2 separate regions of the Homo sapiens genome follow, and region 2 is linked to region 1. Evidence: promoter capture Hi-C in human tissues and cell types (Jung and others, 2019). All regions are on one chromosome and are shown on one strand. The core of a region is centred on a gene start or on the middle of the fragment in contact, and the rest is flanking DNA. Distances in the headings are between cores, read along the strand shown.

Region 1 (6,105 bases), core at 3,602-6,101:
CAGACCATAGCAATCTCGCAGGAATCACACCAATATTCAAATCTGGCCATGTTCCTACCCAATTCAAAAGCCTTCCATGGCTCCCCGCTGACCCTGGCTGAAAGTCCTAGATTCTCCATGAGACACAGTTTCAATAAGCCATGTAACTTTTCTGTATTTTTGTTTTCTTAATTGGAAAAGCGGGATAAAAAGAGTAGCTCCGTCATACACTCGCAGGATTCCATTATGAGCATGGTGGGGTACACAGTCTAGCCCAGGGCCTGCCTGCTCCTCTCTTCCTCTTCTCCCGCCATCACTCTGTCCCAGCTCGTGCTTCTCTGAACATGCCAGGCATGGTCCTGCCTCAGGGCTTTTGCCCCAGCTGTTCCCTCCACCTGAATGGCTGTTTCCCCAGAAATGAGCCTGACTCACCCCTCTCCTTCAAGCCTTTGCCTAAAAATCACCTTCTCAATGAGGCCCCCAGCCCACCCTAGTTAAAACTGCCCCCTCACACACCCTAACCCCTCCTATGTTCTATTTGCTCCACCTCATTTATCACTGATTTTATTTATCACCTATTCATCTATTTTATTTATTGTTTTTCATCTGTCTTCCCCCCATCTGATTGTAAGCTCTTTGGGGGAAGATCTTTCTGGTCTATTTTGTTTAATATCAGCGCCTTCCCCCTTTCCCCAGCACTTAGAAAATACCTAGTACAGGTCAGGTGTGTTGGCTCACATCTGTAATCCCAGCACTTTGGGAGGCCGAGACAAGCGGATCATTTGAGGTCAGGAGTTCGAGTCCAGCCTGGCCAACATGGCGAAACACCGTCTCTACTGAAAATACAAAAACTAGCTGGTGTGGTGGCACGCACCTGTAATCCCAGCTACTCAGGAGGCTGAGGCATGAGAATCACTTGAACCCAGGAGGCAGAGGCGGAGGTTGCCGTGAGCCGGGATCATGCCACTGCACTTCAGCCTGGGAGACAGAGCGAGACTCTGTCTCAGAAAACAACAACAACAACAAAAAACAACAACAAAAACAAAACAAAAGAAACAAACAAAAAAACTAGTACAATGTAGGTGCTTAATAAATACTGGCTGAATGACTAATGGAATGAATGAACATAAAGCACTTAGGACAGAATTAGGCAGGCGGTAAACCCTCAATGAATGTTAGCTATTATTATTACTGTTAGTGATTCTTCAAAGTGAGGCTCCCATGTCCCTCCTCCTTGACTTCTGCAAGCTCATAATCACACCTTCCTTGTCCCCACCACACCCTGCCAATCTCTCAATTATAGTAAGGAGCACACCGCTCTTTAAATACCTGTATATCTTTTTCCATTTAGGCTGAACCAAATGAAATTGCCATTTCTTGTAAGTCAAAAAAAGTCACATACTGGCCGTTTCATGTGGTTTAACCTAGTAAGTTTCCCATAGCAGCCTGCAGACCCCCAGGAGGCACAGTTTGACCACAGAAGCAAAGTCACCTACTCCTGGCCCTTTAGACCAGGTGTGATTGCAAAGCACGTCCAATCTGTTCTGAAGGAGGCAAGGCATGGATTATAGACTTAAAACACAAGAAGATTCTGCTGAATTATTTTCTGGACCTCCTGAGATTTGGCAGAGAAGATAAAAACACACCAACTTCTAAAACGATCCAGCTTCTGGCCATTTTGAAATAGCAAAGGTTTAAGGCTGAAACCCCTCGGTGGGGAGCTAGCTACCTGCCTCTAAGGGGATTCATTTAATGAATCTCCTTCCAATCTCGGCTTTGCTACTGAGATTTGTTCACTCTAAGAGGTTGGCTGTCAGAGCTCAAACAAATTCAGCAACTGCTGAGTCTACCCCCATTTCACAGATGGAGAAAGTGAGGTCCAGAGAGGGGAACGGATCGGCCCAAGGTCACACAGTAGGGAAGAGGAAGACTTCAATCTGGAATCTATGTCTGCTGACTTTAGTCTCATGGTCTTTCTTCTGGATTAAACTGTTTCTATGCTGGCCAGACTCCGGTAATGTAAGCTTCAGTGCCACTATTTTTTAAGCTGTATTTGTCAAATGAAATGTTTATTAAGCCTCAGATAAAACTGAACACTTCTTCACTAGACGGCAACTCCTTTATTTTTTTTTTTTTTTGAGATGGAGTCTCGCTCTGTCGCCCAGGCTGGAGTGCAGTGGCACAATCTCGGCTCACTGCCACCTCTGCCTCCCGGGTTCAAGTGATTCTCCTGCCTCAGCCTCCCGAGTAGCTGGGATTACAGGCATGTGCCACCACACCCAGCTAATTTTTATATTTTTAGTACAGACAGGATTTCATCATGTTGCCCAGGCTGGTCTCAAACTCTAGACCTCAGGTGATCCGCCCACCTTGGCCTCCTAAAGTGCTAGGATTACAGGCATGAGCCACTGTGCCTGGCCAGAAGACAACTTCTTACAAATAACAGCACTACATATGTCTCTCTCCCTAGTTACTTCCTTAGGATAAAGTCCCCAAAGTAGCCGGCTAAGGGCAAAGGGCAAATATGATCATTTTCATGATAACAGGCTGCCAGGTTGCTCTGCAAAATTAAATGCCACAGGCGAATCCCTATAGCCTTGCCAGCACAGAGTTTCATCTTTTTATTTTTATTTTTGCTAATTTTACAGGAATAAATACAGACTGCTTTCATTTATTATATGTTATGTGTTTTTTTGGAGAAAAAAAGGCACTCCAATCTTGGAATCAGGATCCCTGGGCTCGGTTGCTGGTTTGCTGTGTGACCTTTGCCCAGTCACATCCCCTCTGGCGACAGGGGATGCCTATCTGTAAAATGAGGGGGTTGAATGAGACGACGTCTGAAGGCTCCTTTCAGCTCAGACATTCCATGATTCCATGGTGCATTTAAAAAGTATTAGCAATTAAAGTCATAGCATGACTTTTTAATAACCAGAATCTGCCATGCTCCTAAATCAGGCCAAAAAGGCTTGAATTAGGCAAGCAGGAAAACAGGGCCCAGATTATACATGTGTCGAGATGACAGGAGACCCAGGTAGCACTTAAGCCTGTGCGTCGGAGCTGGGCTCATGGGCCAGCACATATACTTTGCCTGCTTTTACGAGGGGATAATAACACTCATTTGTGGTCCAGCTCCCAGTCCTGTGCAGCTCCACCATGGCCGCAGGGCAAGGTCATAGGCACTACTTCAGCCCTAGAATTCCATAGACTTTCAGTCCAAGGTAGCTCACCCCCAGGTTCTGCTTGAATACCTGTGATGACAAAGAGCTCACTACCTGTCCAGGGGCCTCCTGCCCTCTTTTGGCTGTTAAGAAAATCCCTGGGTGCAGGGCAGGTCATGAAGGGGACAAGAAAGACCAGGAGGCTGAGAAGTGATTCCTAGAAACTGCTCCCTCAAACAGGGCAGGCATCAGGGAGGTGGAGAAGAGGCCCCATGGGGCAGGAAAGGCCTGCAGAGGGGCTCCGGCTCTCCTCACTCCGGACCTCTCAGACGGTCCCCAGGAGGGGCAGGAAGCTGGGGAGACACATTCCAGTCCTGATGCACAGGTGGGTTCTGAACAAGCCCCAGGAAAGCGGAGGCCCCACAGCCTGCTCCAGGGCAGACACCTCGGCTCCCTCTTCTTGCCTTGGCTCCCTGGGATCTGATGGGAGAAACTGCTGGGCCTGGGGCTGCTGGGTCTGGAGATGAGCATATTTAAGGGACCTGACCACTGCCCCAGGGTGAGGGAGGAAGGGTCAGAGGTTGTTTGTGTGTCCAGAGCAGGACCAGCAGGAGAGGCAGTGACTGGGTAGCAGATTCCAGCTTGGTTTACAACTAGTGAGATTCCTATCACAAGGAGTGTGCAAGGGGGCAGCAAGACCTTCCAGAGGGGATCTTACAGAGGGGCTGGGCCAGATGCCATAGGTCTTCTTTACCTAGGGAGCCTGGGACCACAGTCCCTCAGACCTGTGCTCTGCCCCATCCCTTAATGCCACGCGGACACAGCACCTTGGCACTGTCACCCCTCTGAGGTCCAGGCGTGGCCGCCAGTCACCCCTTGTCACACCAGCTAGTGTGTGTCACACCTTATCACACACTAGCTCTGGGACACAGAGCTAGGCACCAGCACCTGGCCCGGGTGGGGAAGGGGAAGGAGCTATCCTATACCACTCTCTAAATCGAGGTGCCTACGTGGGGCTGGTCCAGGCAGTCGTGCCGCCAGGAGTCCAGCCACCTCCAACCTAGGGCTCCTCCAGCCCCAGACGAGTAAACCCTCTTGGCGGGCCGGCTGATGCCCCACATGCACGCCCAGGCCGGCTTGGCGGGGACCCGGGGATGCCCCCCACCCCACCGTTTCCTGTACCAGGAAGCTGAGGCCCAGCAGGTAACGCAGCCAAGAGGGGGAGGGTCCCGACAAGAGTCCCATGGAGCACCCGGGCCACAGCAGGGGCCTGTCGGGACCGGCTGGCCGCGCCCAGAGTGAGCTTCCCTCACCGCGGGCAGGAGGGGTGGGCGGTGCAGACAGTGCTCATGAGGGCAGCGAGCCGTCGGGAGCCCGGACCTCGAGGCGGCCCCTCCCAACAACCCCGCGAGAAGGGGGCCACCAATGAGCAAGCTATCCTGACGGGGAAACTGAGGCCTGGAGAGGAGCAGTGCTTTGTGCAAGGTCACGCAAAGGGGCTGAAAGCCAGGTCCCCCGCGCTCCGAGCCCCGCATCCCTCCCTCTCCGGGAGCTGCAGCCGCAGCGCGCACGTCCCGCCCGACGCCCCCATCGCGCAGACCGGGAAGGCACGGCCGGCGGCGCAGGGCCGCCCTACCTTGATGACTGCCGCGCAGGTGGCGGTGGCGGCGGCGGCGTCCAGCTCCGGCTCCGCGCTCCTCGCCGCCCGCCGACTCCCGGCGCCCAGAGCCGCCGCCGCCTCCCCCTGCAGCCCGGCGGGCGGGGCCGGAGGGCGGGGCGGGGGCCTGGCCCAAGGTCCGCCCTTTTGCCCGCCCCGCGGGTCCGCCCTGGCCACCCTTTTCCGCCCCCACGACCCCGACCGCGCTCCTGGCTCCCCGGGGCGGGTCTCGGGGCGCGCACACGTGCTGGGAACAGGCGCGCACACGCCGCAGTGATTGGGGCGGGCTGCCGGCCACCAGGCGGAGGCTGGGGACAGGCAGAGCCGCGGGCCCCACGTCGCGCCGTGCCCTCGCTGCGTGGTGTGGGATGAGGAACCTGACCTCCCGGAGCCTCAGTTTCCCCCGTTGTGAAATGGAGACAGTAACCGCGTCGGCCTCTTAAGGCTGTTTGAGCCCTGGATGTGACGATCCCGGCCGGGTACAGTGCGCGCGCCGAGCCCGGCCAGGGAAGCGCTCCTTTCCCCGAGCAGTTACAGCGGTTACCGAGGCTTCCCCGTCCGCAGGGAGGAGAGGAGCCGGGAGCGCCGCTGGGAACCGAGGAGGACGCCCTTCCTTCTCTCGGGACCAGCCGGGGGCGCTGCTGCCAGCCTCGCTGGCTGGAGAGCCCTGAGGACACTAGACAATGGGGAGGCCCTACCTTTGGGTACCACCCCCACCTAACACTACTGAGCCACGCACTCCTCTAAGCGCCTTCTGTGCATTACCTCGCTTCACTGTCACACAGGCCTATGAGGTTGATACCATTACTCACCTATTTAACACAAAAGAGCTGAGGCACAGAGATATTAAGTACCTAGGTTAAGATCACCCGGCTAGTCATGCAACCCCAGGCAGTATGGCTCCCACGGCTACTAAGCTAACAGCCACTCCACTCCACACCACGTCTGTGAAGAGCTCTTGGTTTTGTTCAGTAGAGACGGGTTATCTTGAGGGCCTTGAACTGCTCCGTGGCACATAGTAACCACTCAATATATAGTTGTGGAGTGGATAACAGAGTACACTGTTACTACTTTACATATCTGTATCGTTTCTTCTAAGCTTCTAATAATAGTGGCTTTATTTAGCCACTATTATTACCTCCATTTTACAGATAAGAAAACTGAGGCTTGGAGTGGCAAGGTACTTAGGGAGCTCTTGATTCTCTCCTTAGAATGTGACTCAGCTTCCATAGTCCACTGTACCACCCCCCTGCCCAGAGCTGGACGGGCTCCCTGCCTACCACCCAAAGCCCAGTGTGCACTATGGTCCTG
Region 2 (6,148 bases), core at 101-2,600, 530 kb after region 1:
GAAATATAACAGACAGTTCAATGAATTTTCCCAAAGTGAACACACCCATGTAATCACCATCAAGAACCAGAACATTACCAGCACCCAAAAGTCATGTTGCTGGCCAGTCACTCACCTTCTCAAGGGTGACCACCATGCTGACTCTGCTAACACTGTAGATTGGGTTTTGCCTCTTCTTGGGCTTGATATAAATGGAATCACCATCTGTCCTTTTGTGCCTGGCTTCTTTCACTCAACATCGTGAAAGTTATCCATATTGTTGTATATGATTGTAGATCTTTTATTCCCATTGCTGTACAGCATATATCCTTCAGAGAAACTCTCCTGCAGGCCCCTAAGGAGAGATGTACAAGGACACTTACAGTGTTGTTTGTAAAAATGGAGAGTTAGCGGTAGCCTTGGCACTTATTGCCTTTATTGCACTTTTAAAAATCTGACATCATCACAAAGATCTGAGTATATGATTTTCTCTCCACCCACCCCCAACGTGGCTGGTTGCAGTCTCACTTGTATATATTCCTACGTCTATTCTTACATTTCTCCATGCTATCTTTCATTTATCCCGCCAAACTGACTTTTCCAAATCTTGTCACCCCCCAGCTCAACACATTCGATGGCTCCCTATAACCTCTGGGGTACAAACTCCCACGCCTGGTATTACAAGCCACTTACAATGTGGCTCCAATGTTTCCAGCTTTAGCAACCAGCTCTCTCTCCCCACACCTTTTATATTCTAACTACGTAGAATATATTAGCTGGCCCATAAACATGAACCCCTTTTCTGCCTCCATACCTTTGCTCATTCTATTCCTTCAACTTGGAACACTCTTCCCACTCTTTCTCCCACTGACAAAATCCTTCAAAACTCAGGTCAAATGTCACCTCCTTTGTGATATCTCCTCCAGTCACTCCAGCAGAAATAATTGCTACCTTTTCTCAGCATCCATAGTAAGGCTTGGTTCATGCTGACAGATAATACTTATCATTTCTTTAAAAGTTAATTACCACATTTCACCATTCTAACACACACGTTCTTATTCATCTCTGGAATCAGGATGCACTTTGCCATTGATGGCATCTTATAGTTGGAAGTATTCTTTTTCTTTCTTGTTGATACATAAAATAATGGTGTTTAAGATTCAGTGAAATACAGTATTTCATTTTTATCTCAGCATATTCTAGAAAAGCTTGTCACACTGCATTGTATAGTTAGTTGTCTACAATTCTGTGTTCCTTTTCATGTGTGAGGCCATAGGCATGCACAAAGTCAGCAATCTGTTCAATGAAGAGATGTGCACCGTTCACTAGTACCTGAACATTTACTAAGTCATGGGAGGTGATGTGGCAGGGAAGACCTCCTAGTGTGGTTCTTCATGAGGTTCCTCACAAGGCTGAAAGAGTTACCCTTTCCTCCTGAGGTGCTGAGGCCCAGGAGACAGTGGTGGAGGGCTGGAGAGAGCCATAGAAGTCTCTCTTCCTTGTGGCTGGCTGTCATGTCAGCTCGCATCGGGGCAGGGGAGGAGAAGTTACATAGGATTAGTTTAATGCCCAATCCTTGATCAGCAAAGCAAGCTTCATTCAATTATAACATCATTCCTATTGGGTAAATAGGATTTGCTTCTCAAGGATCTGATTTATGGCCTGGTTTTCAGGAGCATGCTGTGATAGAAAGCAGTAGCATCCTGTTGTGCCAATCTCATTCCAAGCCTCTCTTTTTGAGTAACAACAGTGAGTCTTTTAATTTGCTTTTTCCTAATGAAATCAGTTATTTCTCCTGCCCACACCACCACTCTATGTTATATTAAATAACAAAGGACACAGATAGGCTGGCATCTGACTTTAGTGGTATTTCAGTTACCTTTTGCCCATTTCTTAATATTTCAGCCTTTCAAATTGTATAGACAGTTTAGGTAAAGGCCAGTATGTTTGTCTTAGTCCATTTGGACTGCTATAGCAAAATACCTTAGACTGGGTATTTACAAACAGAAATTTGTTGCTCACAGTTCTGGAGGCTGGGAAGTCCAAGAGCAAGGCACCAGCAGACTTGATGTCTGGCAAGGACCTGTTCCTTGTAGATGGTGCCTTCTGTGTCCTCACATGGTAGAAGGAGGACACAGAAGTCACCATCAAGCCTCCTTCATGAGGGCACTAATCCTATTCAAGAAGGTGGAGCCCCCATGACCCAATCACCTCCTAAAGGGCCCACCTCTTAATACCACTACAGTGAGGATTTGGTTTTAACACAAATTTGTTTTGTTTTGTTTGAGACAGAGCCTTGTTCTGTCACCCAAGCTGGAGTCCAGTGGCACGATCTCGGCTCACTGCAACCTCTGCCTCCCAGGTTCAAGTGATTCTCCTGCCTCAGCTTCCCGAGAAGCTGGGATTACAGGCATGCACCACCATACCCGGCTAATTTTTAATATTTTTGGTAGAGATGGGTTTTCACCACGTTGGCCAGGCTGGTCTCAAACTCCTGACCTCAAGTGATCCGCCTGCCTCGGCCTCACAAAGTGCTGGGATCACAGGTGTGAACCACTGCGCCCAGCTGGTTTTACTACAAATTTTACAGGGACACAAACACTGGGACCATAGCAGTGTCCTATTGATTTTTCACATGCTTCTGAAGTTTGGAATTACAACATAGTCAAATGCTTTGGGATGATCCACTTTATATGATGAATGATACTCTCATATATTGTGCAAGATATTGCACTATCCTGCCTGCACAAGACCCCATGAATTCAGATGGATCTGTGGCTACGTTTAGAGGATTGGTTGAGGAGAAAGTTTGCTCCTGTGTTCATTAGGATTACTGAACAAGGTAGCAGTTTTATAAGGTTTCCTCCAGTTTCAGGTTGGCTTTATAAAGAATCACTGCATGTATCAGGTATTGCTTTCTGTTGGGTGGTTTTCCTGGGTATTTCAAGGGCATGGGGATTGCCAAACCGATGAGCATGATAAAGTTCAATTGCATGGCCATCTGGACTTCCTTTGGGGAGTTTCTTTGATTGATATCTTTATTTTGTCAGGATCCAGGAAAGCACTTAATTCTTTCATATGATGTTCATTATCTTTTAGCAAATGAGATGCCTCTGGGAATTTTCTAAATTCCATCTTCTCCTTCAGAAAGGATACCATAGCTTGCAATGTGAAAAAAACAATAAATAAAGTTTCTTTCTGTCAAGTGGCACACTCTGGCTAATAAGTCTAAGGATAAGGAATAACTGGAAGGGTAAAAACAGATTTATTTTTCACTTCATACCCTTCTATACTGTTTGAATTATCTCTTACCATAAGCATATATTCCTTTTATTTAAAAAAAGGTTCTTATATCATTTTGCCATTTTGTTATTGCTTTTGTTTCTATTTTTATCCTTTTCTTCTTTTCCTTTTGTGAAGTTTGTGCAGAGGATGACAAGTTCAGTTCATTTAAAAAAACTCCAACAACAAAAGAGCAACCAACCCACCATATTTGGTTTCTATATTTACTATTGTTTTTTTCTGTTTCAATTTTCTTTTTATCTCTGCTCTGGTCTTTCTCAATATTAGATTTAACCTTATATAGAAATAAATTTTTAAAAAACTATGTCAGTGTCTCTAAACTTTGGGAGGGGGAGCTGTTAGGAACACTTTAGAGAATCTGGTGTGGGGGTGGGCGCGGTGGTTCACACCTATAATCCCAGCACTTTGGGAGGCTGAGGTGGGCAGATCAGCTGAGGTCAGGAGTTCGAGACCAGCTTGGCCAAGATGGTGAAATCCCATCTCTACTAAAAATACAAAAATTAGCTGGGTGTGGTAGCATGCACCTGTAGTCCCAACTATTCAGGAGGCTGAGGCAGGAGGATCACTTGAACCCGGGGGGTGGAGGTTGCAGTGAGCCGAGATCACACCACTGCACTCCAGCCTGGGCGAAAGAGCGAGACTGCATTTAACAACAACAAAAAAGAGTCTGGGGGAGCTACAGATTATCATGCAAAGGAAAGTGCAGGCAGCTTCAGGGGTCATGCCCTTCCCCAACCTGAGGCTAATATCTTTTCAGTGCAATCTAGGGTATATTACCCTTTGCATATATCATTGCATGTAATTATGTTTAATAATTATGTGAGGCATCTGTATGCCCACTTTTCAGAAGAGAAAATGGGGTCTCAGAGAGGTTGAACGATTTGCCCAAGACAGCACTGGAATAGTGACAAACTTTGGACAGTAATTTTGGATTTAAGCGGCCAGCCAATCTTTTCCACCACACCACAGCTTGAAGGTTAAGTAAACAACTGATTTTGTAACTTTTCATATTATTGACTCCCCTTTGTTGAAAGGGGGTGCTTGTTGCCTCATACTGTTTCTTTGCTGGTTCTTTGGATGAGGAGACCTGCGGCTTGCATGTTCTTCTCTGGACGTTGTTTGATGCTGGGTGTGAGTCTCTGAGGAAGTCAGTTGATTTACTGGCACATTGGAGGTCCTCAAAACACAATCCAGAAGAGAGTCAGAGGCCCTGGAGTTCCATCCCTCTCACTGCAGCACCCCTGGCATTGGTGGCACCACCTCTGGGGGCAAGGAAGACAGGTGGGGTGAGGGAGGAGACAGAGGGGAGTCAAAGGAGGAGACAGGAGACTTGCACCCCATTCCCATTATGCTGACAATTGGAGGCCCCTTGGCTTTGGTTCTTTTTAAAATGGGATGAGTGATCATGTGAGCAATTTTAGCAACAAAAACCATCTTGAGCATTTACCATGTGCTGGACTCCATGCTTAGCACTTTACAGCTAGGAAGAGGCAAAGCTGGGGTTCTGACTGGTTTGAAAGTCTCCAGAGCCCTCTACCCTACAAGCTATACCGTCCCACCCTGACTCTGAGGCCCCAACAGGCCCCCTCCAAAAGACTGGCAGCAGATCAAAAGGGATGAGAAAAGAGATGCCACACCCTTCCACATACCTCTCTTTTCCCTTTTGTGAAACCTTTCTTGCCAAAAGTTTACATTTTTAATGTTTATGAAAATAATATTATGATCAATGAAAAATTAATGTTCTGTATCTATTTTTAGGCATTTAGGGTCTCCCAACCCATGATGATAATGTGAACTACTTTGAAAGAAATCTCACTCATTTTGGGTTCATTCTTCCCTAATTCACATAACCAGAGCGTCATTCGGGCTTGCTTTAATTTTAAAAGATCTTTTCATAGGTGTGGTTTGGAAGGTGTATTCAAGATGAAAAGCAAGGTGATCACCCCTCATTGTGATTTCTGATCACTTTGGTACTGGCCACTTCTCACTCCCTGCTGCCCGCCCAAATGTCATGACCTTTGTGCTTCTTTGTACACACAAAACTCTCCCCTTGGAAAGCTTTACCCACCAACTTTAAACTCCACCCACTTTTCAGGGCCCAGATAAAACTCTGCCTTCTCTGTGAAGCCTTCCCCAGTGTCTCTCCAAGGAGTTGGTGCCTCTGTCTTCTGCATGACCCCAGCTCTTTACCTCCACCTCCTGCAGGGCCCTGAGCACTTTCCACCTGGCACCACCAGCACTGCTGAGACTCAGCTGTCTCTCTACCACACTGTGTCTATCCTTTGCCTCCCCTCCGGTCCAAGGCCTGGCACATAGTAGGTCCTCAGAGATCTATTGAGAGTCATTGGCAATGGCCAAGACTTGTCTTCCACGCTCCCTATAATTTCTCCTATATGCCTATCTGCTCTCAGCATCCACTGGGTCCAATTCACTCTCACTCTCTCTGGTCCTCCATGTACTCTGTCCTTTTCAGCTTTTCCCCCAGTCTTCACTTGACACTGCATGTTTTGGTAATCTATTGCTGGCATAACAAACCACCCCCAAATGTTATGGCTTAGAATAACCATCACTTTATTTGCTTATGACTGTAATTGGGCCTGGGCTCAGCTCAAAGTTCTTCTGCTGGCCTTCAAAATGGCATGGATACTGGGAGACACAGTTCATGGGGGCCACCAATGTCACAGACATCTCACCATCAATCAGGGCTATCTGAGTCTGTGTCTGTCTCCTATGAGTGGAACTCCTTGAGGGCTGGGGTTGTGTCCCCAGAGCCAGCACAGTTCTTAGCAGAGTTGGGGGCTTAGTGAAGAGGAAATTCCCTAAACAAGAGTCAGAAAACTCAGGCACTGGACCAGTTTTGCCCCAC

Evidence for each region. Contacts are between HindIII fragments. The study calls those that stand out against the background at their distance.
Region 2: a contact is called between a fragment that was not itself captured here and the fragment with the promoter of CORO2A in region 1, in 2 of the 25 tissues and cell types used here (IMR-90 fibroblasts and mesendoderm cells).

The regions. Positions count from the first base shown.
Region 1 is chr9:98,187,786-98,193,890 of GRCh38, forward strand. It overlaps CORO2A (coronin 2A), which reads right to left and starts at 4,852. Exons shown (of 12, transcript NM_052820.4): 1 at 4,774-4,852. RefSeq lists an enhancer at 3,705-4,359 and silencers at 4,512-4,561, 4,632-5,181. The HindIII fragment of the contact is 8,969 bases long and covers 1-6,105 here.
Region 2 is chr9:98,716,298-98,722,445 of GRCh38, forward strand. No RefSeq gene overlaps it. Among named protein-coding and RNA genes, the nearest start is that of GABBR2, 10 kb to the left of the region's middle. The HindIII fragment of the contact is 4,212 bases long and covers 1-3,456 here.